Regions from separate parts of the Homo sapiens genome. Here region 1 is linked to region 2. The links are contacts of gene promoters, found by promoter capture Hi-C in blood cells and fetal thymus (Javierre and others, 2016). All regions are on one chromosome and are shown on one strand. Each heading gives the region's core, a stretch centred on a gene start or on the middle of the fragment in contact. The rest is flanking DNA. Distances are from core to core; before and after follow the strand shown.

Evidence for each region. The method cuts DNA at HindIII sites, captures the fragments that hold promoters and counts their contacts. A CHiCAGO score of 5 or more calls a contact.
Region 1: a contact is called between a fragment that was not itself captured here and the fragment with the promoter of TEX35 in region 2, in 1 of 17 cell types (total B cells). The highest score is 5.3, in total B cells.

The regions. Positions count from the first base shown.
Region 1 is chr1:179,054,075-179,056,774 of GRCh38, forward strand. FAM20B (FAM20B glycosaminoglycan xylosylkinase) reads left to right here. Exons shown (of 8, transcript NM_014864.4): 4 at 455-564. Among named protein-coding and RNA genes, the nearest start is that of TOR3A, 27 kb to the right of the region's middle. The HindIII fragment of the contact is 5,323 bases long and covers 1-2,700 here.
Region 2 is chr1:178,511,804-178,514,503 of GRCh38, forward strand. TEX35 (testis expressed 35) reads left to right here and starts at 1,306. Exons shown (of 9, transcript NM_032126.5): 1 at 1,306-1,424; 2 at 2,224-2,274. The coding sequence starts at 1,386. LOC101928866 (a long non-coding RNA gene) reads right to left here and starts at 1,247. Exons shown (of 6, transcript XR_001738307.2): 1 at 839-1,247; 2 at 273-479. The HindIII fragment of the contact is 3,272 bases long and covers 676-2,700 here.

The DNA.
Region 1 (2,700 bases), core at 26-2,525, 540 kb after region 2:
TGCTCTGTGGGCTTAGCCTTTTAGATCAGTCTGCTTTTTTTTTTTTAACCAACATGCTGTTTTATTTAAAGATTTGAACCCATATATGAGTTTGGGTCCCATTTTTTTTCTAATACTTTCCTAAAATCTATTTTTAATTTTTATTATGAAAAAATTTCTATCATACAAAAGTAGAAAGAATAGTATAATGAGCCCATATACCCACTCTGTAGATTTAAAAAGTGTTCACATTTTATCAGATTTGTCTTATTCTTTTTGCTGAAATGTATATTAAAATAAATTATACACACCTTCACATTAAATTCCTAAATATATGTACCTCTAAAAAATTAGGTTTAGCTACTAGCTAAAAACCCTTTACACATTTGACATGATGAACTGTAATTTTTAAGACTGTTACTTAAAAAACATCCCCTAAGATTTTTCTCTTCTGTTCTTCAATCTTCCAAACCAGGATTCTGGGTTTCCACCGAGCCCCCTTGGTAGTTGGCAGATTTGTTAATCTTCGGACAGAGATCAAACCTGTCGCCACAGAGCAGCTGTTGAGCACCTTCCTAACTGTAGGTAAGAAGATTGTAGAGGACATTTATATAGGGGAATGATTAATAAGTTAAAATGGGGCATTGTTGAGCAAGCTGGCTCATGACTTTTAGGAATTGAAGAACTCAGTGGAATACAAAAGCAAATCAGACAACCAGCTCTCAGGTTATTTGGGAAAATGAATCTAAAGGAGATGGCAGGAAATTGAAATTTTCCTGTATACTTTGTGTTGTCTGTGACATAGGGAGTGAGGTCATTTAGTGATGGTGAAAGCAGGTGATTATTTCCTTCTGCTTTCTCTTAGAGCTATTAGTAAGTCTCAAACTCAGAATTTGGCCTAAATTGGTTATTGTTTGTATATCATTGGCTCAGTTGTTTTTACATATATAATATGTTTCCTCAGGAACTGTCTCCCATCTCCTTAGAATTGAGGAAATCTTAAGGCAACTCTTTAGGAGGCTCAGAAATTATTTTGTAAGGTTGTATTTGGACCTGGAAGATCAACAGGCCTACTCCTTCTGCAAGGGTTAACCTATAACTCATTGTGCCTGGAACTGGCTATGTTGCCCCTGGCCTCTGTTTTCCATTATCTTAACTCTGAGGTAAGAGATCTGAGCTAAAATTCTCACTCCTGTTGTTGTGAGCAAGATGAGAATGGGAAGAATTCAAAAGTGCGGTGGTTTCTTGTTTCCACCTCTTCACCTTGACTCTTTTTCAGTGATACAGTGCTCTGCATTAGGGCATGACTGTTGAAACAGACATTGCAAGATGAACTTCACCTTGCTTTTTTTTGCTAGAGTGAGTGGATTTACATTTAAAATGAGGAAAAACTGAATATTTAAAGGACTTATGACAGATTCATCATTCAGAATTTCAACTTATAAGGCTTGGGCTATACTTTTCTTATAGATAACCAAAAGCATACAATGTTAGATATTGTATCAGATATTTGTTTCAGATATTTTCTAATCACCTTTGGTTGTTCAGTTTTATGTTTAGCAAGCATGAATTCCTGGTGGGTGCTGGGATTGAGGGAAAGAGTCCAAGAAGAAGAAGCCAGGGTACCTGCTCTTCAAAGGCTCACAGATGGTCAACTCACACATTGTATGAAGTGTGGGTAAGGGAAAAGCAGAGGATTTGTAGAGGAGGTTATTAACACTTGAACTGAGTATTGAAGAACCAGTATGAGTTACCAAGGCAGCAAAGAGGAAAGGGCATTGGCAAAATAATGGGAATATTAATGAGAACAAGGGCATAAAGACTGGAAAGTAATAGGTAGAGGGATTTGGCTGGAGGTAAAGTTCTTAATAATCGTCTGACCTTAGCATAACCTTGTTGTTATTGTTGTGTTTTTAGACTTTATTGTTTTTAGAGCAGCTTTAGGTTCACAGCAAAACTGAGAGGAAGGTACAGAGATTTCCCAAATAACCGCTGCCCGTCACATGCATAGTTTCCCCCATTATCAACATCTCACATCACAGTGGTACAGTTGTTACAATTGATGAGTCCACACTGACACATCATAATCACCCAGACTCCATAGTTTACATTCCCATTCACTCTTGGTGTTGCACATTCTGTGGGTTTGGACAAATATATAATGACATGTATACATCATTATAGTATCACACAGAGTATTTTCACTGATCTAAAAATCCTCTATGTTCCACCTATTCATCATTCTCCACCCCTCTCTCCAATCCCCTTGCAACTACTGATCTTTTTACTGTCTGCATAATTTTGCCTTTTCCAGAATGTTACATAGTTGAATCACAGTATATAGCTTTTTCAGAGTGGTTTCTTTCACTTAATAATACACATTTAAGATTCCTCCATGTCTTTTCATGCATGGCTTGATTTATCATTTCTTGTTATTGCTGACTAATGTTCCATTGTCTGATGTACCACAGTTTATCCATTTACCTATTGAATGGCATCTTGGTTGCTTCCATGTTTGGGCAGTTGTGAATAAAGCTGCCATAAACATCTGTGTATAGCTTTTTGTATTGACATAAGTTTTCAGCTCTTTTGGGTAAATACCAAGGAGTGTGATTTCTGGATCATATAGTAAGAGTACATTTAGTAAGAAACTGCCAAATTGTCTTCCAAAGTGGCTGTACCATTTTGCATTCCCACCAGCAAAGAGAGAGTTCCTGTTGC
Region 2 (2,700 bases), core at 56-2,555:
AGATGGAGTCAGTCATTTTCACTGTAATTCCCTTAGAGGAAGGGCATTCCTACCACGAGGCCATCAGATCTGAGAGGGCTGAATTAAAAGGTCCAAGGAAACTGAAAAGTTCCAGCCCCTCATTTATAAGTGGGGAAAGTGAAGCCTGGGAAGCTGGTGACCACCCCCAACTCCCTCTCCTTCCGCTGATGCAGTGGCAGACACATTCTCCTCTGGCTATGGTGGAGTAAGACCCACAGCTGTCACCAGTGTCAGGGCTGGGAAATCACCACCTAGGAAATGCATCAGAAGTGCTGCAGGTGGCTCCAGAAGTTCCAGTGGCCTCCAGGAAGGATAGTCCCAAGCAGGTGTGTGAAATGGGAGGGTAAGTGTGGTCAGTAGTGGCCTGCATGGGGATGTCATTCACATGCAATTTGCATTAGTTCCTGTACTCCTGTGCTGTCTGTCCTCAGATGTCCATGTTGGCCTTTTCTGTGCAACTAGCAGTTGAAATGAGAGGGAAGAAGGAAGTGAATGACCAGTGATAAGAGGAAAAGAGAAATCAATTTCACCAACCCAGATCCCCAGTGATTTTTTATCCCATGGGGTGCCATGTTCCTCTGACTGTCTACTTTAGCACAAACTATGGCTACCCGCAGAATGGCCTTTTCTTTAGTATTCTTCATTTGCCCGAAAAGCTTCTTATCTTTAGCTTCTTGTCCCAACCCTCTTCCCGGATGATAGAAGAACTAGGAAAAGAGAATTTTTAGGTGGGCAGGGGTCTGGGGGTGGTTGTGGGACAGGGGCAGTGTGAGGTCAGAGGCATCAGAAACCATCCTGCTGAGACTGGCTACCCCACCTCATACAGAGTAACCCAGGTTAAGTGAGACGGTGCATGCACGTTGAACCAGAGAGACTTCATGGCATCCTCCAGCCCAAGGTGGCTTCCGGTCCGAGGTGGGGTCGGTTCGCGCGAGGAGCGCACAGCAGAGGACATGGGCTGTGCGCTCAGAGGAGGAGCTGGCTGTCCCTGGAGGACGTCCTTCTGAGTCAGTAGGTGAGTCCTGCTGCAGAAGGAGCCACTGCTTCTGACGCGTGCCTTGCACTTCGACCGTAGCAGGCCATGATCCTCCTCAGTGTGGACTTTCCTTCTGTTGCAAGAGGGAGGCCTGGTGGGACTCTGAAACCTGGCCTGAACCCCTCATCTCAGTGGCCGAAGCCCCCCAGGCCTGAAGCTGTGGTGACGCTCTGGACCACCATGTGGGTCCTGGCATTGTGACCTCAGCTGTTCCGTACACAAAGGGGTGGTCACCCTGCCCTCACCTTGACCTGTAAGTTGCCTAGGACAGTGGCCTGGTCCCAGGGGCTGTTGTGGGGAGTTGAAGAACACCCTGGCCTCCTCCATCATGTCGGCCAAGAGGGCAGAATTGAAGAAAACACATCTGGTAAAAGAGAGACATTGCTGGACAGTGTGGGTCCTCTCTGAGCTCCTACTGAATGGAGATGGTGTCGGGGCAAGGGATACAGAGAATGCTCGCATGAATCTCTGGTTTTTCTTTCTCTGTACTGAGCATAAAGCAGCCTCTCAGTCTGGAAGGGGTGTGGGATTAATCCCTAGCCTTGGGGGTGGGAAGGAAAGAGGCCTCTGCTGCCTCCCTCTGGGGATGAGGAGCACTGCCAAGGGAGCACTCCCTACTCCAAGACCACTCATGGTTCCACGGCCCATGCCAGGCCTGCCAGGCCCACATCTAACCAGCAGGGCTAAGGCTCAGAATAACCTTATTAGATAAATATAATCATCACGTCGATTTTATAGATGAGGAAATGGGGGCTCAGAGAGGCTAAGCAACTCACCCAAAATAACAGAGATAGTAGAGAGGTCAGCTGAGACTATAGTGCAAATCTGCCTATGGCCAAAGCCCTTGCTCTGGAAACAACACTTCCGGGGCTTGCTTCTAGTTATCTTAAAGTGCTTTCTCCACGCTGGCGCCTCCAGCAGGGAGAGGGCTGCCTGCCAAATAGGCAGACACACGCCCATAGGAAGAGGACAGCACGACAAGATGTGATTTGTTAGGAATCGGATCCGGGTGCTGCGGGGTCTGTGAGCCTGAGCTCAAGCCAGTTGGACAGGCAGGGTTGCATGGTTGTGGGGGGCAGGGGGCAGGGTTCCCGTGCAAGGGCCAGATGTTCTCCTCCCCAATCCTGATGTCTGCCAGCCTGAATCTCAGTCTCCTCTTTTTGCAGAGCAAGAACTACAAGGCAGTTTGCCTGGAATTGAAGCCAGAGCCGACCAAAGTAAGAAGCCCTTTTGAGGCCATGCAGGCAGCCAGGCCTGAGATCCATGGGGAAGTGACCAGGAGTCAGGGGTCATTTGCTGATCCTAGTGGCCAAGATTTGTCCCAGGTGCTGGGGGATGCACTGAGAGTTCTTGCTCTCATAGAACTTCACACTGTAACCAATCAGATACATAAACGAACAAGGACTCATTCAGCAGTGTTACCTGCTCTGCTGGGAATCAAGACAGGGAGACATGTCTGAGTGGCTGCCGTGGAGTGGGTGGTAGGGAAAGGCCTTCCTTTGAGCTGAGAGCTGAAGGACAAGACTCTGGCTTTGCAAAGGCAGAGTAAGAGCCTTCTAGGCAGAGGAGGCAGCATGCACTGAGGCCCAAGGTGGGAATGAGCCTGGCTGTTCAAGGGACAAAAGGAGCTGAGGCCCCGTGGG